7 separate regions of the Homo sapiens genome follow, and regions 1, 2, 3, 4, 6 and 7 are each linked to region 5. The links are contacts of gene promoters, found by promoter capture Hi-C in blood cells and fetal thymus (Javierre and others, 2016). All regions are on one chromosome and are shown on one strand. The core of a region is centred on a gene start or on the middle of the fragment in contact, and the rest is flanking DNA. Distances in the headings are between cores, read along the strand shown.

Region 1 (3,768 bases), core at 1,268-3,767, 620 kb after region 5:
CCAGTCCCGAGTCCACGCCACTGACAGGACAGCTCCCCGGGAAACAGAGGGTGCCACTGCTGTTGGCACCAAAAAGCTAGGTTTTGTCTACCTCAGTTCTTGTCATACCAATCTCTACGGGAAAGAGAGGTAGGAGAGGCTGCGAGGAAGCTTGGGTTCAAGCGTCACTCATCTGTACATAGTTGTAACTCCCATGTGGAGTATCAGTCGCTCACAGGACTTGGATCTGAAGCACAGTAAACGCAAGAGGGGATTTGTGTACAAAAGGCAAAAAAAGTATTTGATATCATTGTACATAAGAGTTTTCAGAGATTTCATATATATCTTTTACAGAGGCTATTTTAATCTTTAGTGCATGGTTAACAGAAAAAAATTATACAATTTTGACAATATTATTTTTCGTATCAGGTTGCTGTTTAATTTTGGAGGGGGTGGGGAAATAGTTCTGGTGCCTTAACGCATGGCTGGAATTTATAGAGGCTACAACCACATTTGTTCACAGGAGTTTTTGGTGCGGGGTGGGAAGGATGGAAGGCCTTGGATTTATATTGCACTTCATAGACCCCTAGGCTGCTGTGCGGTGGGACTCCACATGCGCCGGAAGGAGCTTCAGGTGAGCACTGCTCATGTGTGGATGCCCCTGCAACAGGCTTCCCTGTCTGTAGAGCCAGGGGTGCAAGTGCCATCCACACTTGCAGTGAATGGCTTTTCCTTTTAGGTTTAAGTCCTGTCTGTCTGTAAGGCGTAGAATCTGTCCGTCTGTAAGGCGTAGAATGAGGGTTGTTAATCCATCACAAGCAAAAGGTCAGAACAGTTAAACACTGCCTTTCCTCCTCCTCTTATTTTATGATAAAAGCAAATGTGGCCTTCTCAGTATCATTCGATTGCTATTTGAGACTTTTAAATTAAGGTAAAGGCTGCTGGTGTTGGTACCTGTGGATTTTTCTATACTGATGTTTTCGTTTTGCCAATATAATGAGTATTACATTGGCCTTGGGGGACAGAAAGGAGGAAGTTCTGACTTTTCAGGGCTACCTTATTTCTACTAAGGACCCAGAGCAGGCCTGTCCATGCCATTCCTTCGCACAGATGAAACTGAGCTGGGACTGGAAAGGACAGCCCTTGACCTGGGTTCTGGGTATAATTTGCACTTTTGAGACTGGTAGCTAACCATCTTATGAGTGCCAATGTGTCATTTAGTAAAACTTAAATAGAAACAAGGTCCTTCAAATGTTCCTTTGGCCAAAAGCTGAAGGGAGTTACTGAGAAAATAGTTAACAATTACTGTCAGGTGTCATCACTGTTCAAAAGGTAAGCACATTTAGAATTTTGTTCTTGACAGTTAACTGACTAATCTTACTTCCACAAAATATGTGAATTTGCTGCTTCTGAGAGGCAATGTGAAAGAGGGAGTATTACTTTTATGTACAAAGTTATTTATTTATAGAAATTTTGGTACAGTGTACATTGAAAACCATGTAAAATATTGAAGTGTCTAACAAATGGCATTGAAGTGTCTTTAATAAAGGTTCATTTATAAATGTCAGTATAGTTGGTGGTCCTTCTTTTACAAACGCAGTCATTCTGCCTTTAATTATCTTCCCCCAAAAAAGAAAAAAAAAATAGGCGAAGCAAAATCACATACTGTTTGTTTGCTCCAGGGCAGACAACACTGCTAGATTCCTGACATTTTGTTTTGAATTTTTCTACACCTGGAGCTTGTTAGTCAAGGTCTAAAATCCCTAAGTGTGGTGACCTTTCCATTTCATCCTGCCTTTTCAAAGCTGGCCCAGGCCCTCCTTTCAGTCTGACATGAGAATGGCGAGAATGGCTCACCCACCGTGCCCTCCTGCACGAAGCCAGCTGGGCCCACCTAGTCACTTGAGTTGCAGCTGCTTTCTCTCACACACCACAGGGGGCGCTGGACACATCTCTGTAAAATAATACAATTGTGCGTTTTTATGGGTGAAATCTGAGGGTAATTAAAACCAGCAGCCTAGTTACCCAGAAAGAGTGCTTGCTATGCACCTGTAGTTCAATCTTTCTTTCTTTTTCAACAAAGCCTACCCTTACACAACAGGAATTAACTAGGGGGAGAAACACCCACATACACAACTCTTCCCCAAGTCTCCTTTTCCCAAACAAACAAACAAGCTATTCTTTTAGAATTATAACCATCTTGCCTTCTGCTGAATCCACCATCAGGTGGCAGGAAATGAAAGATCAGATACAGATCAAATGAAAGCTCTAAAAGGCCTGGCCTCAGCATTACCAAACTTATTTATTAAGAGGTTCTGAGGAAATTGTTCAGAGTACCGCCACAGACCCCGTTTTCTTCTCTTAGCTCTCTGGCATACAGGCCAATGACTTCATACCAGCCAGCCTATACCACGGATGGCACAATCTCCATGCCGGTATCTTAGCACAACTGGTCTTCAGCACTGGGGCCTATAGTTCAGACAGCTGCTCAGCGGAAGAGGGTTTGCACTGCAGGCCCCTCTCTTGACAGAAGTGGAGGTGAGGCTTGTCTCTGCTTCAAGGACTCTTTCTGCCAACTTCCAACAGCAAGCTGTGCGTTCGGTCATAAGCCCCCAGAAAGATGAAACCTCCCAGACTGATGGCTGCCATTCGAGGGAAGACACCTGCAAATAATCTAGGGGAAAAAACAGGATTTTTAATGTTGTGCGTATTTTAAAAAAAGGTTAAATTCCAATACCCACAGCTTGCTCAGCTCAATACACCATGCTCATTAGTGGCTAACTACCAAACAGCTTGTGAACGCTCCCAAATAAGGCAAGTAATAGCTGTGTCCCAACAGTAGTTCTAAAACTTTCATGCCATTTTTCCCTTTGAAACATGAAATTGATTTTTTTTAAAAAGGTGTTAAAGAGCTGAATCCTAGGTAAGGCTGGAAGGCACTTCCAGCCCACACCTCTAAAGTGATCTCCAGGGGTTGCTCAGTGAAGAGATTTTTGGGCAATGCTGCCGCTCCACCCACTGACTCAGTTGCATTTTGTCCTTCGAGACCCCAAAACATGACGTCACGACAACGAGTTGAACCTCCATGGATTCCCTGTGTTCCTTTTCTGTCTAAAGGCATGAAAGGCAAATGGGCTGTGGCTGTGAAGGGGGCAGCATGCCTCCACCTGCACAGTCCCCTTGGTATCACAGAAGGTGCTGCTAACCAGCCAAGGTGCAATGTAGAATAATCAGAGCAATGCAAAGTAAAACTACAATGCCACGAGGATACAAATTGGGGATTCATTCTTTAAAACTGCCCCCCCTCCCCATACCTACTCAGATATTTGTTCAAAAATTTTCATTGTGGCATTGCTGATGGTGATATAAGTTATGGCACAGTATAAACATACAGTGGATGATTATGTAGCTGATAAAGATGAGGAAATCTACAGATGCCAACATAAAAAAATTACAAAACAGGTTTAAAAAACTAAGTCCAAGGACTATGATTCCATATCTAAAAGGCAAGCCAGGGATGTGTCTTAAGCCCTAAACTGAATGCCTGCTGCCTGTGGATTATAGGACACATTCCTGGCCCACGCTTCCATAACCTTTGAACCTTTTCACCAAGAGTACAGGCATGACTCAGAGATATTTCAAGTTTGGTCCCAGGCCAAGTTTGGCCACCATAATAGTGAATATTGCAATAAAGCAAGCCATTCAAATTTCTTCGTTTCCCAGGGCACAGAAAAGTTATGTTTCTACTACAGTCTATTAAGTATGCAGTAGCAATTATGTCTAAAAATT
Region 2 (3,795 bases), core at 328-2,827, 650 kb before region 5:
GTTGTCTGTACAGAAATAAAAGACCCAGTTTCTGCTTAGAGAAATAACTTTAACTGGTCTCTCAAAGATACCCATAGAATGACATTTTGTCTACCTCCTCCCTATGGTTAAATTTAACATTTGACACATATTCCTGATGCTTAGTGTCATTGAAGTTTTTTTTTTTTTTTCACCTTTGCTGTTAGCTTTACTGTTTTGACTTTTGATTGATAGTACGTCCTTAAAGGGTCCACTTTAGTCATTTCTTATTTTTCATATAGTTTTTATTCAGCCCATACCATTTGGCAGGACTGTTGTAGGCCCTGGGGTTTGGGGATGGTGAATGAGGCAGGCAGAGTCTTTGGCCACGTGATACTTTATTTTAATGGAGGTGGGAGAGAGTGAGCCAGTACACATATAACCAATAATGAAAATGATTTCAGCCAATGACAGATTCTGTGAAGAAAATCAGTCAGGGTCATGGGATGGAGAATGGATTGCTTCACAGCAGGGTAGTTTAGACTGGATGATCAGAGGAGACCTATTTGATATGGTGTGTTTTTGATTGGCATAATTTTTTAAACTGAAATATAAGACATACTGAAAAATGAACAATTACAAATGAACAACTTGATGAATTTTCATAAACTGAATGCAAACCCAGCTAACTAGGTACAGATGAAGAAAACGATCATTTAACAACAACCCAGAGGCCCCCTGGTGCTCCTGCCTGTCACTACCTCCACCCTACAAAGGGTCACCAGTCCCCTGACTTATAACGCTGGTTTTGTTCAGTTTTGTACTTTAGGTGAAATTATATGTAGGCATACACATACTTCACATTGCTCAGCATTATATGTAAGTGATCCTGGAGATGGCCTTTTTGACATATGAGCTGAGACCTGAGCGATGAAAGGTAGCCAGCTAGGTGAGACTAAGGGGAAGAGTGTGTTAGGCAGAGCAGACAGCAAGTGCAAAGACTGAGATGAGAATGAGCTGGGCATGTCTAGGTAATTAGAGGGGGAAAGTGGTAGTAGACTAGGTCTGAGAGGAAGACAAGGGCCAAATCATGTGGAGACCTGCAGGGTCTGCTAAGGAGGTTTCAGGGGTTTAAACCATACAGAGGCTGAATCCCAGTCCTGGCAGCCAAAGCACAGGCATGTAATTAATGTACTGTACACGCCCCCTGTTATAAATCTAAGTTAGGCTGGCTTTGAAACTTTTAGCAGAGTGGTGTTCAGTGAATTTAGCAGTAAGGGTCTAACCATGGTTAGAAGTCTTTCCAAAGACCTAAATCCTGGTAGACAGGGGCCATGTTGCTGTGTCCATATAGCCAAGTGAAAAGTGTGTGCAGTACTTGGTGGTGTAATATAGCCAGGCACTGCCATGGTGGGCAAGATATGAGTACATACTGCCAGTCAAGTCTTAGGGGAAATGTTGGCTGAGGGCACTGAGTTTGAAATGGTTCTTAAGTCTAAGCACAGTTTTGTTGTCTCTTAGGGTATTTCCCCTCTCTTTGGCTAGTGGAAGTTCATGGAGCTCTCTTGTAGGAGAAGCACTGCCTTTCAGGTCTCCAATTTTATTTTACTTTTTTTTTGAAAGAGAGTCTCACTCTCACCCAGGCTGGAGTGCGGTGGCCTGATCTTGGCTCACTACAACCTCCTCCTCCTGGGTACAAGCGATTCTCCTGCCTCGGCTTCCTGAGTAGCTGGTACCACAGATGCACGCCACCATGCCTGGCTGATTTTTGTATTTTTAGTAGAGATGGGGTTTCGCCATGTTGGTCAGGTTTGTCTCAAACTCCTGACCTCAAGTGATCTGCCCCCTTCAGCCTCCCAAAGTGTTGGGATTACAGATGTGGGCCACTGTGCCTGGCCAGGCCTCCTATTTTAGAATCCTTGTTGTATGTTTTCTGTGCAGCCCAGAGCTTCTGTCCAGGGACTTACAGAGGAATGTATGTTGTCAAAGAAACTGCTTAAACCCATGCCCCTGCTGTTGTATACTCAGAAAGAATGGCTCCAGCCTAATTTTCTGCCTTTACGGAAGTGGGAGGAGAAAGATGAATGCATGACTTTTGTAAGTGAAGGACTAAAGGTTATGGGCAAGTTCTTATCAGCTAAATGAGGCTGTGGCGGCTGCATTGGAAGTTGTGACTTACCTGTATCTCCCTCTTGCCTAGGAGAATAAATATTTGACTTTTTTCTTTTTTTAAAATGAAGTACAGCTGCAATTTCTGCTTTTAGAAAAGGGAATCCATCTCAAATAATTTAGATGCTAAACTATTGACCTTCCTTGTGGGGAAGACCGTTAAGTGATAGCTTTGTCCTAAATTGGTTTTGTTTGCTGTAAATAAGGCATTTCTTTTATGGGTGAGTGATTGAGTGCACAGACCCACAGTAGTGAGAACATTCCTGCCCTCGTACCCTGGTCTAGTTCTGCAGGCGCAAAGCCCAGAAAGTCACTGAAATATGGCATATTTGGGGGAGGAAAAGAAATTACATAAGTAACCTCAGATCATTTGTCCTTCAGCTGTCTTTACCACTCAATCTGCAATTGTCACTTGATGCATCACTTTCTGTTACTTGATGGAAAAGTTTTACTGAAGAACTTGAGAGATTTGGAAATATTTGAACAAATGATAATATCAGTACACTAATGAAATTTGGAGATTAATCTTGAGAGTTTGTGAGGAAGGTGGAGGTGATGAAGAAGGCAGTCCAGGTGAATTCATGCAGAGGCAGAGGTGAGAGAACAGGGGGAGAGTAGTTGTAGTGAGCAGTTTAGTATGGAGAAGGGAGAGGTGGATAGCAGAAGTTGAGGGACAATGGCACTTTTGGGTATACAAAGAAGTCTAAATGGGGCTTCAGAAAGCCCAGAATTCAGCAGGGAATAAAATTAACCCCCACAACTGAAAAATCAAACAAATATCATTTATGTAGCAAATATTTTCTGAATGCTTATTACAGCTCATTCTTTATAGAATGTTGGGCAGATAAATATGACTGAGTGAATGCAGACAGGAATAAGAAACACAGCTCCTACCTTCAGAGGGCACAGAGGTACAACTGGCCTATAAACCTGTAGTTATACTAAAACATAGTGGGTACTGCAATTGAGCTGTGTTCTTAGCCTTCTAAGATACTGTTGGCCTCTGTCAACCACTTACCCTGTGTCTGCAGAACTATTCCCTCTGATCATTCATTGCCTGATCTCTGTCTTCATCAGCTTTCTGATTCAACGTTGATTCTTCAGATAGGCTTTTTCCTAATTACCTTACCCAGCCCTGCCTTTCCAGGGATTATTCTCTGTACCCTTATCTGCTTTGTTCTTTATAACACTTGACTGTACCTGGTAGTGTTATTTGTTCATTGGCCGTCTTCCCCGCTCTCCTACAAGTTTAAGAATGTAAGCTCCACAAAGGCAAAGTGATACAGCTTAATGTAACAGCGTGAGTGATTCCCCAGCTGGCCGGAGTTGGTATTCAGTAAGCATTTGTGGTCTCAGTCAATGAGTAGGGTGCACAGAGAAGGGAGAGGGAGGTAAGGAACAGGAGAAGTTGAGGGATGATGTGGCTCATTTCAGCAAATGAGGAAGAAGGAAGGGGCTATAGAAATCCTAGTTGTGAAAGGGTCCTCATAATCATAGAACTGTTCCTTGGGCATGTAGTATATAACAAGGCTGCGTGAAGTAATCTCCACACATTATTTCTTTAACCCTTACAACATCACTGCAGGGGAGATTTCACAGTCTCCATGTTTTATAGAAGCAGTCAGAGGCATAGAGAGGCCCTATAGTCATTTGCTTAAAATCACAGTG
Region 3 (4,181 bases), core at 1,304-3,803, 620 kb before region 5:
TCTCAATTATCAACTCCCAGAACTGTCATCTTGACATTACAGCATACTTTGATCCTTTCTGCCTCATTCTCTCTTCACTTCTAGTTTGGGCCAGTTGTTAGCTTGTAGCAATATCATCTAGCATTTCACTATGGGTTCCTAAAAGAAGAGTCATTAGTATAAAACTTTCTTGATGTTTCTTAGGTTCTTCGGCTCCTCTGATTTTAAGAGGGTATAGTATGTTTAGGATATTGTTTCCTTTGCTGCTTAGATACTGTGTCAGATTGTCTATTTGTAAGAGTCTTTTTGTGTGTACTTTTCTGAGGTCTTTGTCATCACAGTGGACTTTTCAAATGAATGACAGTATGTATTTCACACATTTCCTGGACAGTGTGACAGGCTCATTTGACTACCGTGCATTCTGCACTTGGGTATAAATTTTTTTTTCAGGGATTATTTTAAAGTTTCCTTTTCATGATATCTAGTTTTCTGAAAGCTCACCTTGAATTTAACTTCTATGGATTATTCTTATAGATAAAAGTAATATTTGGATGATTTACCCTCTCCCCCTCCCTGGCTAAAGAAATTCAAATTACTATAAGAGAAGAGATGACTAACATAGATGGAAAAATTTGGCATGTGTTTTTCTTTTTTATAACTAGGGCATTTTATGTGGAATATTGGGGAGGGCCATGGAATTTAATCATCAAAATTATTATTTCTCCTTAAATGGAGATTTTGACAATGAAATTGTGAAAGAAAGGGTGCTCTCTGCAATGTTATATTTTTCTTTAAAAGCATCTAAGATCAAGTTTTCCATAGCAGTAGTATTTTATTCATCAACAAGAATGAAATGTCTTTCTAAACACAAATAGTGGACTTCAGACCTCACAGACACCAATTATCATTCTGCACAGAGAACATTCAAAATGTCAGATGATCTCAGGAATTTCCCCAGCGAAGGTCGCTCATTTCCTACTCTACAAGTCATTTCTTTGGCAAGCCAGTGTGACAGGCAAACTTGTGAGATTGAGTTAGCTAGGTCACTCAAAACTGCCGCTATAAAGAAGTGATGAGAAGTCTCTTGCTATCAGGTAAATCCCATTAAACTCAAATGTATCCTAAACTATTAAGCACTATTAGATCCTTAGAAGGAGCAGGAGTGGGTTGATTGAATAAAGTCTGTCCCTTGCAAGCTTTCATCTGGATTTATTGGAAAGGACTGTGGGGAGTAATTTAAGGAGGGCTAACAAATTGCTAACTGCAGGGTGTGGAGATGGTAGCAGGGCCCTGTGAGACAGTCAAATCTGATGCATTGAGATGACATGTTTGACCCCTGGTAATGGTGATGGTGAATGTGCACGTAGGTTCTTTAGGGTTTACAAAGCACCTTCACGTACATTATCCCAGCCACCCTGGAAGCTGGTGTTTTGCTAATATCTCTGCTTTACCCGCTTAGTGTGCAAGCTCATTTGAGGTAGAGATCTTGAAAAACACTGCTGTTGTTCCTCTCACACTGGTGATGTGTTTGGGCCACATGGTTGAATAAAAATATCTAGTACTTTCCCTTCTCTGAGTATTGTAAAGGATCTGCTCTGATGGTGTAGTTGGGCGGGTTTTAATGAATAATGAATAGCCCCAGAACAAGATTTTTTCCCCTTTTTGAAAATTTAAAGAATGATCCCATGGCCTAGTATTGTACTCTTTTTAATGTTTTCTTTTCTTTCTTATTTTTTGTTTCTTAAGATGGAGTCTCACTCTGTCATCCAGGCTGGAGTGCAGTGGCTCGATCTCCACTCACTGCAAGCACCGCCTCTCGGGTTCGCGCCATTCTCCTGCCTCAGCCTCCTGAGTAGCTGGGACTACAGGCACCCGCCATCACGCCCAGCTAATTTTTTTGTATTTTTAGTAGAGATGGGGTTTCACTGTATTAGCCAGTATGGTCTCGATGTCCTGACCTCGTGATTCACCCGCTTTGGCCTCCCAAAGTGCTGGGATTACAGGCGTGAGCCACCACGCCCAGCCGCAATTTGTTTTCAAATGAACACTTTGCATGGAGATGATTCTTGGAACACAGACCCTCTTTTGCCACCACAGAGACTCACCTGAGTGGGTGGGGGGAATGACATATATATACACATACATACACATAGGTATATATATATATATTTAAATGAGATGGAGCAGTGACTTAATTTTCAGGAAACAACTTCTAGAGTTATTTGTGCCACAAGTGAGCAGAGACTCAATTTTTATGAACATGAACCTGACATAAGACCAAGCTACTTGGCACAAATATCCTCGCCTTCTTCCATGAGCTCACCTGTTCTGCAGAGATGTTGTCTTGGCAGGCTGCAAGGGCAGTGCCTAAGCACAGGGATGGGTGCTTAATGCTGGCCTGTTGAGGGAGTGTCCGTTACTCTTGTAACTTCAGGCCTCAGTTACTCATGTGTCACATGGACTTTTGGCCTGTCATAATCTCAGGTTTCCTTCAGATCTTATTAATCTTTTCAAAGTAGTTAGAAAATTATTAATTTTATTAAATGTAATTAGATTTTTTTTCTTTTTCTAGCTTGCCTTCTTTCATTTTATTAATAAACCCATCTTTGGGGAATTAAATGTAGTTATTAAATTAACTACATGAAATAGATAACTTTTATTCAGGATAAAACAGCGTATAGAGATTAATATCACAGTCATCTGTGGGTCCAATGTGAAGAAGTTCCAACTACTATTTTCTCAGATTTGCTCAGATCACTTTAAAATAAAAGACGTAAAGTATAAGTGATGAAATCGAAGTCTGTTGTTGTCTCATCGGAAAATCCATGATCCCTTCTGACCCTTTAACATAGTCAGTGTCCTAAACTTGGCATGTCACCTTCCAAATGGTTTTGATATATCTATGTATGTATCTTCCTAAGATTGTTTACTATTATTATTTTCTATTTAAGTGTGCATACTCTTATGTGTTCCTCTTGTTCTACCACTTGCTAGTTTTTCCCCTGTGTTTTGCTTTGTAAATATATTTGCATTGACATATTTCAAGAGCTGGTTCATTCATTGGAACCATTTTACAGTATTCCATTGGATAGGCCAATCTTATTAATCCTTAGCTTTAATGTCTTTGGTTTTTGTTATTTCTATGTAGCATCTCTGTAATCAAGGGAGGCCTTGTGTTCTCTCCTAGGAGAGAATCTCAGATGGGCCACTGTAGCAGATAGAGGTACTGTAGCCTGTTGCCCGCTGAGATTGATATTAAATAATGGAAGAAAGTTATAAGATCAAAGGCCCAGCAGCTCTGATGTGGTGGAATGATGTGCAGAAATGTCAATAATTAAATGTAATACATAGGCCATGTCTTAGTTCATTTTCTGTTGCTTATAAGAGACAGCCTGAAACTAGGTCATTTATAAAGAAAAGGAATTTATTTCTTATAGTTATGGAGCCTGAGGAGTCCAAGGTCAAAGGGCTGTATCTGGTGAGGGCCTTCTTGCTGATGAGACCTCTTCTGCATAGTCCCCAAGGGATGCATGGTGAAGGGGCTGAGAGTACTAGCTCTCATCTCTCTTCTTTTTCTTAGAAAGCCACCGATTTCACTCCCATGATAATCCATTAACCCATTAATCCATTCATCCTTGAATGGATTGGTCCATTCATGAGGGCAAAGCTCTCAGAACCCAATTACCTGTTATAGATCCCACCTCTCAATACTGCCACATTGGAGATTAAGTGCCATATGACTTTTGGAGGGAAGAAACATTCAAACTATAAGGCCAGTTTGGGCAAAAGATTTGAGGTTAAGATTGTTTTTAAAGAAGTGCCTTTTTTATGACTAGCAGGTACATCAGATTTACCACATGCATATCAACTAACATTGTAAAGTGTGTGTGTGTCTAATACTAGATTTCTTTTTTTTTTCCTTAAACCCACATCTAATCCACAAGTAAGCTTTACCTCATCACCAAACTTTATCCAGAATCCCCTCATTTCTTTCTGTCCCCACCTCTACTGCCCTTCTCTATAGTCTAGTTGAGAGATCAGCACACTGGCCTGCTAGCCAAATAAAGCTTTATTGGAACACAGCCATGCCTATTAATTTATTTATGATTGATGGCTAGTTTGCACTACAAAGGCAGAGTTGAGTAGTTGCAACAGAGTCCACCTGGCCTCAAAGCCTATAATATTTACTATCTGGCTCTTTA
Region 4 (3,959 bases), core at 640-3,139, 680 kb before region 5:
ATTTCTTGACCTCGCATAACCTTGATAAAATGGATGTGGACTATCAGCACTCCACTTCTCAAGCTGTTACCACAATGCAATGGAAGTAATTAACACCTTGGAATATGCTTGGCACAGGTTAGAGGTCCAAAAAGATTTTTTAAAACATTTTGGCTCCCTTCTTTCCCATTTTTCACATGAAATTTTATAAACAATTACAAAAATGATACTCTATTAATGTTAGAGTGTTATAAGCTTCCTAGATAACAGACTTGAAGCTTCATAACATCCTTAAGCTAAAAAAATTACTTAAATTTAAGAGGTAGGTTGGGCATGTTGGCTCATACCTATAATCCCATCACTTTGGGAGGCCGCGACAGGTGGATTACCTGAGATCAGGAGTTCGAGACCAGCCTGGCCAACATGGCAAAACCCTGTCTCTACTAAAAATACAAAAAAAAATTAGCTGGGTGTAGTGATGCACACCTGTAGTCCCAGCTACTCAGAAGGCTAAGGCAGAAAATCACTTGAATCTGGGAGGTGGAAGTTGCAGTAAGCCGAGATCATGCCATTGCACTCCAGCCTGGGCAACAGAGCAAGACTCAGTCTCAAAAAAATTATCATCATAATAAAATAAATAAATAAATTTAAGAGGTAGAATCTTTATTTATTCTGCCCATTGTAATTAATTTATGTTTAAAACAGCATGTTTCATCCATACTACCAGCACAATGAATCCAGAAATGAATCATTGGCATATGTATGTAAAGAGTTTCAGAACCCTTCTAAACCACCAAAGCAACAAAAACATGAAGAATTTGATGTTATTGTCTAAGTTGAATTGGTTAACATTGATTGAGATGTAACAACAATGTTAACTGCCGTTCCTTTTATAATAATTCAAGCAAAGTATTATGTAAAACCTTCAGCAACATAATGTAAATCACAAGCTATTTAATGCCTTCAGAACAAGTACCAACTATTACAGAGAAATTATTTGACATTTAGGCTAACCTGCAGGGGAATGTCTGTACAGTACTGATTAAAAAGGTATAAAATGACAAAACTTGTGATTAATATTTAAACACTGTAACAATTGTGTGACCTCCTGCAAAGCATCCTTTCTCAGCCTCAGTTTGCTTATCAATAAAATGAGTATAGCACCCACATCATAGGAATATTGTAAAGATAAAATACATAAAACTTAGCGTAGTGTGCATTACTTATTAAATGCAAAGTTAATTATTATACAAATTCAAGTTACAATTTGTGTTAGTCCATTCTCACAGTGTTATAAAGAACTACCTGAGACTGGGTAATTTATGAAGAAAAGAGATTTAATTGGCTCACAGTTTCGCAGGCTGTACAGGAGGCATGGCTGGGGAGGCCTAAGGAAATTTACAATCATTGCAGAGGTGAAGGGGAAGCAAGCACGTCTTCTTACGGATGGCAGGAGAGAGAGAGAGAGAGAGAGAGACAGAGATAGAGAAGGGGAAGATGCTACACACTTTCAAACAACCAGATCACGTGAGAACTCTATCACAAGATAGCACTTGGGGGATGGTGCGAAGCCATTATAACCACCTCCATGGTCCAGTCACCTCCCACCAGGCCCTGCCTCCAACACTCAAAATCCCAATTCAACATGAGATTTGGGTGAGAACACAGAGCCAAACCACATCACAATTTGACCTCAATTTTGGTTGTATGCTGTGCTTTGAAATCCTTGAATGAAAAGTTGTTGATGAATTCTGAACAAGTCAGAAACTTTAGACTGAAGTTCATGTTGTATCTATCACTTATTAAAAGAAAAAAGTGATTGTATTATTCAATGTCATTAGGCATTAACAAAGGGAAGAAAAGTATAGAGAATATATTACTCACAAGCAAAATTCTTTCTAAATGGAATCCTTTACAATGTATCCCATGAGGCATCTGTAGGTCTTTAGGGACACAAAACAATTTATTGAAACTTCTGTGCAAATTGAAACTCATATTTGGAGCAATGCATTAAGAATGTACAGATTATTTATTCACGCTCTTCTCTGAAGGAATTGCAGATATCACTTTTATTATACAAATGCTCCTTCAGTGATTACAATCCCTTCTCTCTGACACATGGATGAGAAAGGAATAAATGCAAGTGCATAAAAAATGAAACCTGCTCTGATAGATAAATTGCATATATTCAAGAATGAGGAAAATTGTGTGTGCATGTTATCATATTAAAAAAATAAAATATATTTGGAACTCCTTGAGTTTCCTTCCTCAATAATGAGAGGCACAGAATGAGAATGTTCACTTATAGTAATCTTATCAGCACACCATCAGTGAGGCCAGAATGAATGGTAGACATTACTCTTGCAGAAACATGAATAGGATATCATTTTGATATTACTTCTGCAAACACAGCTAGCAAAGCCAATGTTCATTCTAAATTGCTGGTCAAGGTTTCACAAGAGTCACAACAAATAAAGAAAAAATCCTTGCAATTTAACCAGCTTTTACTGGGAGCTGTAATGTACCCAGTCCTTTCCTGGGCACTATCATAAATATAAGAAAAAGATGTTGACATTTTCCAGTGCTAACAGGTGAGGTTGGGTTAATTCTGTACTCCACAATTCCAAGGGAGCTAGCCTGAGAGTTTTTATAGTGTGTAAAACATAGGGTTGAGGCTGGGCATGGTCGCTCACGCCTGTAATCCCAGCACTTTGGGAGGCCAAGGCGGACAGATCACCTGAGGTCAGGAGTTGGAGACCAGCCTGGCCAACATGGTGAAACCCTGTCTCTACTAAAAATACAAAAATTAGCTGGGTGTGGTGGTGGGTGCCGGTAATCCCAGCTACTTGGGAGGCTGAGGCATGAGAATCTCTTAAACCCAGGAGGCAGAGGTTGCAGTGAGCCAAGATCACACCACTGCACTCCAGCCTGGGTGATAGAGCAAGACTGTCTCAAAAAAACCAAAAAAACAAAAATACAAAACATAGGGTTGGGATTCACTCACTTGGGGGCGCAGGGCACCTGACTTTGCCACATAAAGTGTAAACATGGGTAAATTTCTTAACTTTTCAGACTTCATTTATTCATCAAATAAGAATAAAAATACCCACCTCTTATCTTCATTATGGGGATTGAATGGATTAATGTATATAAAATATTTAACCCAATACGCTATAGACGTGCCATGGTGGTTAACGTCTGTCTTTGGCTTTCCCCCATATTAGCCTCTGAGACAGGGATTTTGGTGCAAGAAGTTTATTTGAGAAGTGATCCCAAGACACAGAGGGAGAAAAACTGAGACATGAGACAGAGAAGGAAGATAATAAAGGGTGATTTATTGAGCAGCTGACTGCTGTGGGTAACAGAACCCAACTCACTGGGGGAACTCAAAACAAAGTAGAACAGCTTTAGAATTACCCCTTCCCAGAAGCAAAGGTGCTAAGGTACTTATCTACCAACTTTCTGTTATTGGTTTAGGATTGATTCCTGGAGCATTAACCTTTCTGCACTTCTAGCCTGCCCTGCATGCTGGCCAAGCTTGCTTCCAAAGACAGAGAAATGACCTTAGGTGGAGAGAATTAAAGGGTTTTCAGTAAGCTGACTACAGAGGCAAGCACTTAGGGGATACAGACAGAGCTTCAACAGGATCTTCATGACTAAGACTTTATTTAACTTCCCCATGACTCCTTAGCCTCTAGGCTCTCACTGCTTTATGAGGCTTCTATAATTCAGGTAAAATCTTTCTAATTGTATTCTTTCCATTTGAAAATGTTAGGCCAACAGGATTTGAATGTATACCATCTGGGTTGAGTGGAGTTAGAGCTTTGAACTCGGACATACAGATTTTATAGAGAGTTGGCTTGCTAGATGATCTCAAAGAGTTCACAACTGAATTGGGGAGACTGTACACACACAAGTGAAAACATGTAAGTCAAATGCAATTTAGAAGTTTAAGGCACTAAAGTCAGCGCAATGGCATT
Region 5 (3,791 bases), core at 597-3,096:
TGTTGGAACATTATATGGTTATGTGCCCTATAAAGGTAAGCACCTTCAAAAGGAAAAATCACATTCAGAGTGTGGTTGATAACTTTACTATTATTTATGCACCACTTGTGAATACTGAAAGGCTTAAAGTGAGCATTTGACACAAAAGAAGTTAAGCCCATGCAGAAAACTGCCTTTTCCACTCATCTTAAAGTAGGAAGTTATTTTTCAGACCCAAGTTTTTAAATTTTACTTTTAAAAGTTTTATAGTAGACAATATAAGTAAAAACAAAAACTTCGTTTAACATACTTCTAGAAATCTTGGATATTATTAATTTGGGGCCTTAGGCACAAAGAAACTATATTCATTCTTGCTTTGACCCCCATAGCATTTAAACAATCTATTGAGTGGTAATTTGTTTTTGAAGGAACATGCTACATGTTTTAAACTATTTTATAAAAGAGTCCCATACACTAAAGAAACATGCATTATGGATAACTTTTTGAAAGAAATTCTAGATCAGCACTGTCCAATAAAATTGTCAATGATGAAAATGCTGTATTTCTGTGCTGCCCAATATGGCAGCCACTAGCTGCAGGTGACCAGCAAGCACTCAAAAAGTATTTAGTGTACCTGGGGAACTAAATGTTTTATTTTATTTAACTTATAATTTAAGTTTAAACAGCCACACATGGCTACTGGCTTCCATACTGACCAGCACAAGTCTAGATTTTCTGGTCATTTACCTCAAACACACACACACAGGCCCACTAACTTAAAAAGCAATCACCCGAAATCTAGAAGAATCCCTCAAGTCAAAAGAAGGTCTTAGTTAAGAGAGGACTTGTTTTCTAGTCTCAAGAAACAAAGTCATTGGTTTCATTTCATTATCGCATCTCAATATAAACATCAAGTGGACAATACTGAGGGGGAAAGGGAGCTTGGTGCAGATACCAACAGAAGTTCCTACCATCATCATACCTGAAGTAAGGGCTGATTGCAGCAAGAACGTTTCTATGACAGGAAAATGTTTTCCCGTGATCCACTTCCACTACAATGTCTGTCAACTGTCCTTCATCGTACATTGTTTTGAGTTGCTTAAGAATACTGCAAGCATGGAAGGGGTCCATGGCATCGCTGGCTGGGTCTGAAGATGGAATCCCATTCGGTGTTGGGGAAGACTTACTTAAATCTAGGAGGAGAAAAATCGTACAACTACAAGAAGTGCCGAGCCAGTTACGGCATCGCGGGATTTTTCTGTTTGTGTGTCTGCTTGCTAGGCTTTTTCCCCCTACAAGATATATACAAATGTCTGTGGATATACGCACGACCTCGTGGGACCGCGAGTTAAGGATCTGGGAGACAGAGGGCGGAGCGCGATCGGCGGAACAAGTTCAAAGGCCAGCCTGCTCCTGCGGAGCCCGGCGAGCCCGGCACCCGTGCTCGCGGAGGAAACGCGCTCGCAGCCCAGGAGAGGCGTCTGCGCGGACTCCGCCGAGAGCCGAGGGCAGAGCCTCACGAGGGAAGCTCGAACAACGGCGGCCGCCGGTGCCCCCTCAAGCCGCCTCCCGCTGCCTCCTGGGGCGCAGCGCCGGCGGGTACCCAGCCTCCCCATCCCGGTCCCGCCGGACCGCCCACCGCCCTCCGCACCATTCATCCTCCCTCTTCTCATTCCCCTCCACCGCTTCATCCTTCCCTCTAGCTCCGCACCGCTACGTCCTCATCCCACTGCCTGTGGCCGGCCCCGGCCCACCTTCCCCCTCACCTCCCTCCACGCCGCCCTGGCCACCACACGACCCACCTGCCGACGCGGCCATTTCTCGATGGGGCCCCGACTCCAGCTATTTAAAAAGGAAATGTCATTTCGCTTCTCTAGCTCCCGGGTTCCGGCTCTTCTAAGCTTCCCCTGGCCAATGGGGTGTCCTGTGCATCTGGCTCCACCCCTAGCCTCCGAATTCCTGGCGCTGATTGGCCACGACGCGAGCACATGCGTGTCGGGAAATGTAGTTTGATTGCCCCGGCTCCCGCGTGGTCCGGGTCGGGCGGAGGCCCAAGCCGGGAATTCCTATTGGCTGATTCGGATGGAGGTGGAGAGCAGGGAGCTGGCCAGCCTGTGGCCGTCGAGCGCGCAGTGCCTGCCGGGAGAGGTAGTCTTCTGGCGGAGGAGAACTGTCATTCTGAGGGGCTGGGGTAGGGAAAGCTCTTCAAGTGCGAATTTCCCCATTTTAGGCCTCTCTCCTGGCCCCCGGCACATTTTTTTACCTTTTTCTTCTTCCGTAAACTTCCTGCCAGTGACTAGCTTCCGGTATGAAATCAAGCTCTGCGTGAGAGCTGTAAAACCAGAAAAATGTGGAAATGGACAGGAGGGCTGTTGTCCAAAAATGCAAAGGAAATCTGACGTCCCACCCTGAAGAAAAATATCACAAGGCCCAAAAGCAAGGCGTCTCTGATGAGTCACCTATGACACCCAATTGAAATAGCATCGCCTTGGCCGGGTGCTCTGGTTTCCACAGATTAACTTGGTCTGGTTACAGCGGCTGCTTAGGATCTTCAACTCCCACTGGTGCCTTGCTTTTCTAGCACACCCAGAGAACACCTGTTCCTCACGTGAACATTACAAGGGGATCCAAGATGCTTTACTTTTTGCTCTTGGGAAATGGAGGGGATACAATACTAAGTATTCCGGAATTTCCTTTGAAAAAATACCGGAATGCCCTGAGCCCGGAGCCAGGGATGATTACTGAAGCCCTGGCTCTTTAGTCACTATATGTGAGAACTGACATAAGACCTTTCAACCCCTGAGCGCTTAGATCCTTCATCTGTAACGTGAAGTAATAGTAATCCGTACTCCATGGATTTCATAGGCTGCAACCTTTTGGAAAGAAAATCAAAATTTTACTGTTGACGAATTTTTATTTACTCATCTTGTGTTTCTAACATCTAACGGGGTGCCTGGCACATTATAGATGTTTCATATTTTAAAAATAAATGTAAGGTGCAAATGAGCTAACATTGGGAATGCTATTTCTAGATGTTAAAATGTAAGGAAGTATCAGCGAATGGGAAGAATTTCTAGTAGACATATAGTTAGCCCGTGTGCATAACTTTTCTAGCACTGAAAAGATCAAACCGTTGAACTTCTTGATAAAGAAAGGATCTTGGAATTTAAATTGTGATTGAGAAAGAGAAATAATTATGAAAAACAATTCAGTTCTGTCTTCTAGGTCTGCTGAGAAATTTAGAACTTAAAATACTATAATCCCATGCAAGTTAACAGGAAGTGGTGTTTCCTCATGACTGGGGTTTCTGCATATACATATGCACTTATAATTTCTTCTTTGTGAATGTCCTGTATGCACGTTTCTGGATAGATGAAATTGACTTAATTTTGGTTACTCATAACTTTATTTTTTCGTTTTTATGATGTTGCTTTCTAATTTATTAAAATGGTAGCACTTTATGACAATATGGTTAGTATTGAGGAAAAAAATGGCGTTAATCCTTAGGGTTTGACAACATCTGACGATATTGCAAATAAAAATACAGGGCATGCATTATTTGAGAAATATTTAAACTGAAATATCATTTGTTGTTTATCTGAAATTTAAATTTAATTGGGTGTTCTGTATTTTATCTGGCAACCTTTTCAAATCTGTTAAAATAGAGGAGTTTTGTTTGTGCTTTGTTGTTGTTTTGTAGCCATCTATCTATTTAAGCCTTAAGAAACTTGGCCAATTTTTTAAAAATTCAATTCTCAACTTAGTAACAAACAGACTTGACAATATTGTTTGATTAGTGAGAAGACAGTGTT
Region 6 (3,837 bases), core at 1,299-3,798, 700 kb before region 5:
CCATTTCATGTCTAATTACTTCAATATGCATGTCTTAAAAATAATCAGCTGACCAGTCGCGGTGGCTCACGCCTGTAATCCAAGCACTTTGAGAGGCCGAGGCAGGCAGATCACCTGAGGTTAGGAGTTCGAGACCAGCCTGACCAACATGGAGAAACCCTGTCTCTACTAAACATACAAAAATTAGCCAGGCATGGTGGCGCATATCTGTAATCCCAGCTACTCAGGAGGCTGAGGCAGGATAATCACTTGAACCCGGAAGGTGGAGGTTGTGGTGAGCCAACGTCGCACCATTGCACTCCAGCCTGGGCAACAAGAGTGAGACTCCATCTCAAAAAAAAAAAAAAATCAGCTATTTTTTAAAAATTATTATTATTATTATTATTTTTGAGAGTCTCACTCTGTCACTCAGGCTGGAACCAGGCCGCAGTGCAGTGGTGCAATCTTGGCTCACTGCAACCTCCGCCTCCTGGGTTCAAGTGATTCTCCTGTCTCAGTCTCCCGAACAGCTGGGACTACAGGCATGTACCACCACTCCCGGCTAATCTTTGTATTTTTAGATAAGTTTTCACCATGTTGGCCAGTCTTTTCTCTAACTCCTGACCTAAGGTGATCCACCCACCTCAGCCTCGCAAAGTACTGAGATTACAGGCATGAGCCACCACACCCAGCCTGAGAGTTTTTTTTTTAAAAAAAACACTATCTCAGCCTGGGTCCCCCTAAAAGTAGAGCTGGAAACAGGGGCTTGTATGTAAGTTGTTATTTTGGGAAGTGATCCCAAGGAGTGTGGGGCTGAGAAGACTGAAACAGGGAAGGAGGGAAAGCCTACCCAAGGATGATGCATTATGCATTCTCAGAGAACTAATTCCGTGGGCACATGGGGCTGGGTTCTGCTGAGGACTCTCAGAGGAGCTGTAGAATGCAATTTAGATCATTTATTGAGTGACCACAATGGGAAGTATTTATCCACTGATTCTCCTACCCACTGGTCAGGAATCACCCCACGGAGCATTAACTCTTACACTCCCAGATTGGCAATGGAATGCTTCAGAAAGAGACAGAATAGCTGGAACAGTTACCACAGGTGTCCCATAGGGGAACAGAGGCACCCAGAGGAGAAAGAAAGGCATGTGGTGAAGTTTAGGGGAGGTGCTATCAGGCTTTACCTGGGCAACACTAGGGGTAGCCGCAACAGCTGGGGTGAAAAGGTGGACTGAGAGGATGTGACACAGGACACAAGAAGTACTTGACACAACTACAATGTTATTGTCACTGCTAATCAAATTCATTCCAATTCCTAAGTACCAACTCACACCCAGTTCTAAATCAAATTACTCTATCATTTCAAAGATGTCTTTTTAGAGCTAGTTTGGTCTAATAAGTACTCATACAGGGTCCACAAGAAAACTTGGTTGCTGTGTCTTTAAATCTTGTAATCTAGAACAGCCCACTTTCACCTTGTTCCATGCCATTGATTAGCACAAAAAAAAAGTCAATTATCCTATGGAACATTCCATATTTTGTGTTTACCTGATTAGAAAGTCATTTCACTTTCTCTTGCTCTTTTTTAAATTTAAATTTAAATTTTTTAGAGATTGCGTCTTTCTAGTTTGCCCAGGCTGGCCTCAAGTGATCCTCCTGCTTTGGCCTCCTAGAGCCCTAGGATTACAGGAGCTAGCCACTAAGCCTGGATTATTTCATTTATTTCTCTATCTCCAATATTTTCTATAAATGATTATAAGCTCCAACGGTCTGGTTAAACACAGAAAAGCTTTTCTGTCAAGGAAAGATTGCAAATGAGGCTATGTACTTCACAGTGCATCCCACTGGAAGACACATGTGGTGGAGTGAATGGCGCCCCTCAGAAAGATATGTCCACATCCCAATCCTCAGATATGAATATTACCTTACATGGCAAAAGATGTGATTCACTTGAGCATCTTAAGAAGAGGAATTTACCCTAGATATCTTGGTGGATTGTATGTGCAATCATATGTATTCTCACAGGACAGAGGCAGAGAGAGTTTGAAAGAGAAACACAGAGGTCTTATGAAGATGAAGACAGAGACTGCGGTGATGTAGCCACAAGCCAAGAAACACTAGGGCAGCAACCAAGAATCTAGAAGAGGCAAGAAACGAATTTTCCCCTAAAATCCCTGGAGGGAGCACAGTGCTGCCAGATATTGGACTTCTGGCCTCCAGAATACTGAGACAATAAATGCTAGGTAACAGTAGGAATGTAATAGCCTAACTCCTTCATTGCCAATTTCCCCACAAACTTTCCTTTTAATGGCTCCATTCATTGATGAGTGTAGCCTGCATTCATTATTTATTTAAGGGAAATAAAATAGTGATTTGTGGATTCTATCACTCCTTTCTCCTTTCTTGGTAAGAATTTTTTCACACACAAAACTAAACTTTCCTTGATCACCTTGGGCTTTTTGGTTATTTTAAAATATAGTTCATATAAGAACCACTAAGAATAAATACTTAATTCCACCTTTTCAACTGCTATATTCCCAAATAAGGAATTGGTCTTGATGGTTATTTAAATCCCTATTTATGCCATTGTTTATCTAACATCCGTCTCCTCCACAAGACTGTAAGCTCTGTGGAGCAGAAAATCTGTCTACCTTCTTTGCTGCCTAATCGATAGTGCCTGCCACAAAAGAGAAGCATACCTAAGACATTTTAATAAACAAGAACTCCTACTATCTTGGAGAAATCCCAGAGTCCCAAGAGGAATATGAAGTTGCCCCCTTCTGCTTGCCTTTTTTTTTTTTTTAATCCCAAAGCCCTGAAATTATTTCAGGGGATTTCTTTTCCCCATCCCTAAAGCAAGGAAGCAAAATCCTCTGAGGCAATATAGCAACTCCTTGTGAAGAGAGCCAAATTTTGAAAGGAAGGAATTTCAGGGCCACTTAGGTGAAGTCCGAGCTTATTTTTCTCACCAGAACCATCCTGTTAGGATGTCAGTGCAGGGAGAGACTTTGGCAATCATCTAGTCAAGTGCATTTAAACCTTGCAAATTCAAAACAGCCATCACTACAGTAATAACATCAATCATAATAGTAATAATCATAAACATACCATATGAATCTCCAGGCTCACTGAAACAACCCCTTCAGGAACATCTCAGGAAACTACATCTTAAGTTCCTTGGGTAATTCTGATGTAGCTTGTCTGTAGCACTGGGTTTGAACAATACTGCTATAGTGGAGAGGCTTTCAAAATAATATTTAATAACAGAACCATTGGTAAAACCTCTGTAAAGGTCTGATGTTTTAAAAATTAATTCACTCTAAAACTACTTAATGAAAGCTTCCTAAGAGCTAGAAACTATTCTAGAATCTGAGCATACAGAGGGAAACAAAATTGAAAAGGTCCCTGCCTGCTATGGTTTGAATGTGACTCCCCAAAATTCACATGTTGGGAACCTAATCTCCAATGCAACAATGTTAAGAGGTGGGGCTTAATAAGAGATTGGGCCCCACCTCTTAAAGTAAGTTCAGCCCCTGGTGCCTCTCTCTGTCTTGTGTGCTCACTCCACCTTCCACCATGGGATGACTCTTACCAGATGCCAGGACCATGCTTTTGGACTTCCTAGCCTCAAGAACCTCGAACCAAATTAAACCTCCATTGTTTATAATTTACCCAGTCTGTGGTATTCTGTTAAAGCAAAAGAAAACAGACTAAGACACTGCCCTTGTGGGACTCACATTGGGAGGCAGAAGGCATAGAACAAACTGAAAATAAATAAGTAAATAAGCATATACATATATACCACAATAGCCCCCTTGTACCTTTCTTAGAAAACATAGGTTTTCCTGAAACACA
Region 7 (4,104 bases), core at 1,578-4,077, 600 kb after region 5:
AGGACATCTCAGGTGCAGACAGCTGTGGAGCCAGCTTGATGGATGCCTATTTTACTGTCCTCTTCTTGCCTCTTTTGGGAAGCTTTATTCCCAGAATGCACTTTTCAGAAGTGGGTGGCAGTTTGGGGGTTTTTGTTTGTTTTTTGTTTGAGACAACATCCCGCTATGTTGCCCAGGCTGGAGTGCAGTGGCGCAATCATGGCTCACTGCAGCCTCCACCTCCTGGGCTCAAGCAATCCTCCCACCTCAGCCTTCTAAGTAGCTACGACTACTGGTGCGTGTCTCCATGCCCGGATAATTTTTTAGTTTTTGTAGAGACAAGGTTGCCCTATGTTGTCCAGGTCTCAAACTCTTGGGCTCAAGTGATCCTCCTGCCTCAGCCTCCCAAAGTGCTGGGATTACAGGTGTGAGCCACCATGCCCAGTCATGGTCAGCAGTTTTAATTCCGAAGATTTTTCTTTCCTTTTTTGACTCAGCTTCCTCTCACTGAAACCATAATCAGTCTCATCTCTCCATCACTAAACTTCACCACCCAAGGGTTGGTGGTCCTTGGAGAGAGACTGGGCCAGACAAGGTGATTTCTGCCTAACACTGGGAGGGGCCTTTTTTAGGCCAGACGGCACATGCAATTCCAGCCTATCATCACTATTAAATTCTAATAAAGATAAAAGTATTTCATTTCAGAAAGGGGAAGGCCTGCGTGCCTCAAACCCGTAATCTCAGCGCAGGTCAGCTTTCCACCTGCCCCTCACTGGACAGACTTATCAGGTAGCACTACCTTAATTGTGTGTTTTCTTTTTCTTTTTCTTTCTCTCAACCCTTCCTGTTTCGCTTTCCTTCCCTGGCCTTAATTTCTGGATGTTTGGAAACTACAGGACTCTGTTTGGAAACAAGATCAAGTCTGTGGCTAAGAGAGCATTCTCGGGGCTGGAAGGCCTGGAGCACCTGTGAGTATCTCACCAGCCCTGCCCTGAGGCACAGCCTGCTGAATGCGGCTGCCGGGGAGTTCTGCTAGCAATTTAATCGCATCTTTGTAAACTGAGAAACAGGCTATTTGGAAACACCAGCTGCTTCCTTCTCATTATGTCAGCTTCAGCTTTGGCCTTTATGTTGCCTATGCCAGGAACAGTTACAGAACATATGGCCAGTGGATGTGCTCCCAGTTAATTCAGTTGGTATTTGGATAAATACCCTCCCCCCTCCTGCTGCGCAGCCTAACCCCTGCACTGGCTCCTTCATGGACCCCTGGCCTCATTGCCTCTTCCACCAACGCGCTTCCTCCTGGCCAAGCCTGTTGCCTCCATTAAAGCAGCTTAACAATGCAGAGTAGGTGCTGGGCTGAACCAGTTTGGTGTGGTTGCTTCTGAGACCCTGGGAGGAAGGGAACAGAGCCACCCGAGACAGTCATGCTGTTGCCATCTGGGGAGGATGCCTCATGTATGTGATTCTTAGTTTGTTTCCTCTTTGAATCAAGTTTGACTCTAACTCTGTTGGGAAAGGTTTTGCCTTGCTGAGCAGGCCTCAGCCCAGCTTTGATGGTGCCCTAAGGCTGGCTTGGCTCCTGAGTCATTCCATGGGCTTGTGTTGCGATTTGGGAAACAACAGCCACTTATAGTAGTTAGGACACAGGTCTGGCTAGTCCCTGTGGGTCATCTGTGAAACCAGGACTGTCCTGAAAACCCCTCAGGTGTACCTAGGGTTTCTTTGCATAAGTAATGTATGTTCTGTTTCAGGAACCTTGGAGGGAATGCGATCAGATCTGTCCAGTTTGATGCCTTTGTGAAGATGAAGAATCTTAAAGAGCTGTAAGTATCTGGATTCCCTGGGTCTGATTAATGGTAGTGGAGACTTTCAGAGTAAGAAACTTCTGCAATTGCATTATGCTCACTTGTTAAAAGTTCACATGGTACATATTTTGGATTTTGTGGGCCACAGAGTCTCTGTCATGACTACTTGATTGCATCATTGCAGCAGAAAGCAGCCATAGACATTACATAAGCAGGTGGGTGTGGCTATGTGCCCATAAAGTCACATTGACAGAAGCAGGCAGTCGGGCCGCAGGCTGAAGCTTGCTAACCACTATTCTAGGCAATGTGAAATATACTCTCCTCTATAAAGTGGATAATCACCCCTTCAATTATGTCAGGGCCAAGTTTTCATCTTTTGGGCTTGCTTACGATAAAGGCCTGTGTTGAGAGGGTCTACTTCAGAGCCTGGTGGGCTGTGAGCAAGGCAGAGCTCTGGAGGGGATGGGATGCTTAGGGGTGCAGTGGTGTCTGCCCATACCATTTCCAAGCTTTCTGGGCACGGTTCACAGGTGGTGGTGCTGCCACTGTGGACTTGGACTGTGGGCTCTTGGGTGACAAGGTTGGAAAAGCTTCCCTGTATCCTACTCTGGCAGGGGAGCTAGTCTGGGTCCTCAGGTGTAACACCCAAGTTTTCCTTTCTGGTTTTTTTTTTTTTTTTTTAGCTAGACATGAATCTGATTCTACAGCCAGTAAGTTCTAGCCATGATATCAGTTCCCTGAAGGGGTAACTTTTGGTTCCTAGAAGTGCTGACAGAATGGCAGATGCCACAGGACAGTCATCTTTGTGCCCTGACCTCATCCCCATTCCCCGAGGCCACTCTTGATGAACCCTCAGTTGGGGCAGGGAGGCTGGGACTGGGGAAATGAGGTGCATTCCCCATAGCTGGGAACTGAAGCGGGCCGGGTGACACCAGACTGAGTGAGGAGGGAAGGTGGCCTGGGCACTTGCCCTGTGATGTTCAGCATGCTGTGAGCCTCAGGCCTGCTGAATAGATACCGTCCTTGCAAGGGTTGGATCTTGGAGCGGGTGTCTGTGACGGGTTCATGGAGCTCAGGGCTCTGCAGACAGCTGCTCCGTGCCCAGGGCCTTCCCTCTTCCAGCCTCAGCAGCTCTGCCTCCATCTGTCGGGTGAGACGGAACATACAGAAAGGATTCCATGGCTCTCCTTCCAGAGCAGGGGAGGAGATGATTCCAGACCACCGTGGAAGGGAAGGCTGGACTCAGAGGTGGACTCGCAGTAAAGCAAGTGGAATGAAACATTGGTTGTAGAAGACAAGCGGTGGGGCACAGGAGCATTCACTGTGGAATTCTTTCACCTTTTCTGTCTTTGAAACTTTCAGATATGATGTCAGGACTGAAAAATACCTGATTCAATTTAAACGGGAAGAAGGTATTTTGAGAGAAGGAGGGAGGAGGATAAGATTTTCCTTGGGAAGTTGGGAGGAACTGGACCCTTCCAGAAGCTTGGACCTCCAGCGTGCTTCTGCATGGTTCTGGAGGCTCAGCCTCGGTCTCCTGCCTGGGTTTCCCATCGTTGCTGCATATACCTCGCTGGAGCCGGCCCTGTGCCCAGTCCTCAGATGAGAGAAATGGTTAATTCCACTTGGTCGTCTTTTTCTCCATCAGATCAAGTCAGGTTGTACTGTGCACTTAGTCATCCTCTGGGTAAATTTCCACAAGTGATGATTAGAAACACACTTTGAGTTGGAATCGTGAAAATGCACCATGTGAGCCAGCAAAGCCCTGGGATGGCAGCAGAAGGCAGTAGAGCCGATGGCGCTGTGCTCTCCACGGGTGGAAGAAGGGCGGCAGGAGCCTGCAGAGCCTAGGGGTTGGAATCCTCGCTACTGCCTGGCCCCAGGCCCTCCCCATGTATCCTCTCAGTCCTAACTTGCTGTTTAGGAACATGCTGTCTCCACCCTGAGTACCCACTGTCTTCCTGGAGTCTGGCCTCCTGTCTGAGGTGGGTTTCATGGTGGAAGAAGTAGGAAATCCTCAAAGGCGTTAGCCCCACACGTCCAGGGCGTGTGTAGGATGAGGCTTAGCCCTTTCTACATGTGTCTGATCAAAGATAAATGTCAAATTTGTTTTCCCGTTTGTTCCTGTGGTTCAAATGGAATATGTCCTTGTGTCCTGCACAAATGCTTAACGTCGCACAGGGATGGCCCAGCCTTCTCTCCTAGGCTTTCGTGAACAGTGCCCAGGCTGTTCTGCCTGACTGCACGGAAGTGCCCTCTTGCTGGGGAGCTGGAGGTGCTTCTGACAGCGGAGAGTTCTCCATCCAGGCTGAGTTCC

The links. The method cuts DNA at HindIII sites, captures the fragments that hold promoters and counts their contacts. A CHiCAGO score of 5 or more calls a contact.
Region 1: a contact is called between a fragment that was not itself captured here and the fragment with the promoter of KBTBD8 in region 5, in 1 of 17 cell types (fetal thymus). The highest score is 5.0, in fetal thymus.
Region 2: a fragment that was not itself captured here is called in contact with the fragment with the promoter of KBTBD8 in region 5 in 4 of 17 cell types (total B cells, monocytes, fetal thymus and 1 more); the score reaches 10.2 in total B cells.
Region 3: a contact is called between a fragment that was not itself captured here and the fragment with the promoter of KBTBD8 in region 5, in 1 of 17 cell types (naive B cells). The highest score is 5.8, in naive B cells.
Region 4: a fragment that was not itself captured here is called in contact with the fragment with the promoter of KBTBD8 in region 5 in 2 of 17 cell types (total B cells and naive B cells); the score reaches 5.6 in total B cells.
Region 6: a contact is called between a fragment that was not itself captured here and the fragment with the promoter of KBTBD8 in region 5, in 2 of 17 cell types (naive B cells and total B cells). The highest score is 6.9, in naive B cells.
Region 7: a contact is called between a fragment that was not itself captured here and the fragment with the promoter of KBTBD8 in region 5, in 2 of 17 cell types (fetal thymus and total B cells). The highest score is 6.1, in fetal thymus.

Annotation. Positions count from the first base shown.
Region 1 is chr3:66,376,575-66,380,342 of GRCh38, reverse strand. It overlaps SLC25A26 (solute carrier family 25 member 26), which reads right to left. Exons shown (of 10, transcript NM_001379210.1): 10 at 1,420-2,653. The coding sequence ends at 2,536. It overlaps LRIG1 (leucine rich repeats and immunoglobulin like domains 1), which reads left to right. Exons shown (of 19, transcript NM_015541.3): 19 at 1-1,546. The coding sequence ends at 80. Among named protein-coding and RNA genes, the nearest start is that of LRIG1, 120 kb to the left of the region's middle. The HindIII fragment of the contact is 4,729 bases long and covers 153-3,768 here.
Region 2 is chr3:67,648,536-67,652,330 of GRCh38, reverse strand. The region is part of intron 1 of SUCLG2 (succinate-CoA ligase GDP-forming subunit beta); the gene reads left to right. Among named protein-coding and RNA genes, the nearest start is that of SUCLG2, 4.2 kb to the left of the region's middle. RefSeq lists an enhancer at 1,547-1,596. The HindIII fragment of the contact is 7,595 bases long and covers 1-3,795 here.
Region 3 is chr3:67,621,042-67,625,222 of GRCh38, reverse strand. All of the region lies in intron 1 of SUCLG2 (succinate-CoA ligase GDP-forming subunit beta), which reads left to right. Among named protein-coding and RNA genes, the nearest start is that of SUCLG2, 31 kb to the left of the region's middle. The HindIII fragment of the contact is 2,752 bases long and covers 1,178-3,929 here.
Region 4 is chr3:67,671,858-67,675,816 of GRCh38, reverse strand. All of the region lies in intron 3 of SUCLG2-DT (SUCLG2 divergent transcript), which reads right to left. Among named protein-coding and RNA genes, the nearest start is that of SUCLG2-DT, 19 kb to the right of the region's middle. The HindIII fragment of the contact is 3,259 bases long and covers 260-3,518 here.
Region 5 is chr3:66,996,362-67,000,152 of GRCh38, reverse strand. KBTBD8 (kelch repeat and BTB domain containing 8) reads right to left here and starts at 1,846. Exons shown (of 4, transcript NM_032505.3): 1 at 1,782-1,846; 2 at 962-1,172. The coding sequence starts at 1,797. RefSeq lists enhancers at 26-125, 2,089-2,188 and a silencer at 1,429-1,748. The HindIII fragment of the contact is 2,180 bases long and covers 1-1,882 here.
Region 6 is chr3:67,692,936-67,696,772 of GRCh38, reverse strand. All of the region lies in intron 3 of SUCLG2-DT (SUCLG2 divergent transcript), which reads right to left. Among named protein-coding and RNA genes, the nearest start is that of SUCLG2-DT, 40 kb to the right of the region's middle. The HindIII fragment of the contact is 1,550 bases long and covers 1,774-3,323 here.
Region 7 is chr3:66,395,813-66,399,916 of GRCh38, reverse strand. LRIG1 (leucine rich repeats and immunoglobulin like domains 1) reads left to right here. Exons shown (of 19, transcript NM_015541.3): 10 at 876-947; 11 at 1,734-1,805. Among named protein-coding and RNA genes, the nearest start is that of LRIG1, 100 kb to the left of the region's middle. The HindIII fragment of the contact is 895 bases long and covers 2,380-3,274 here.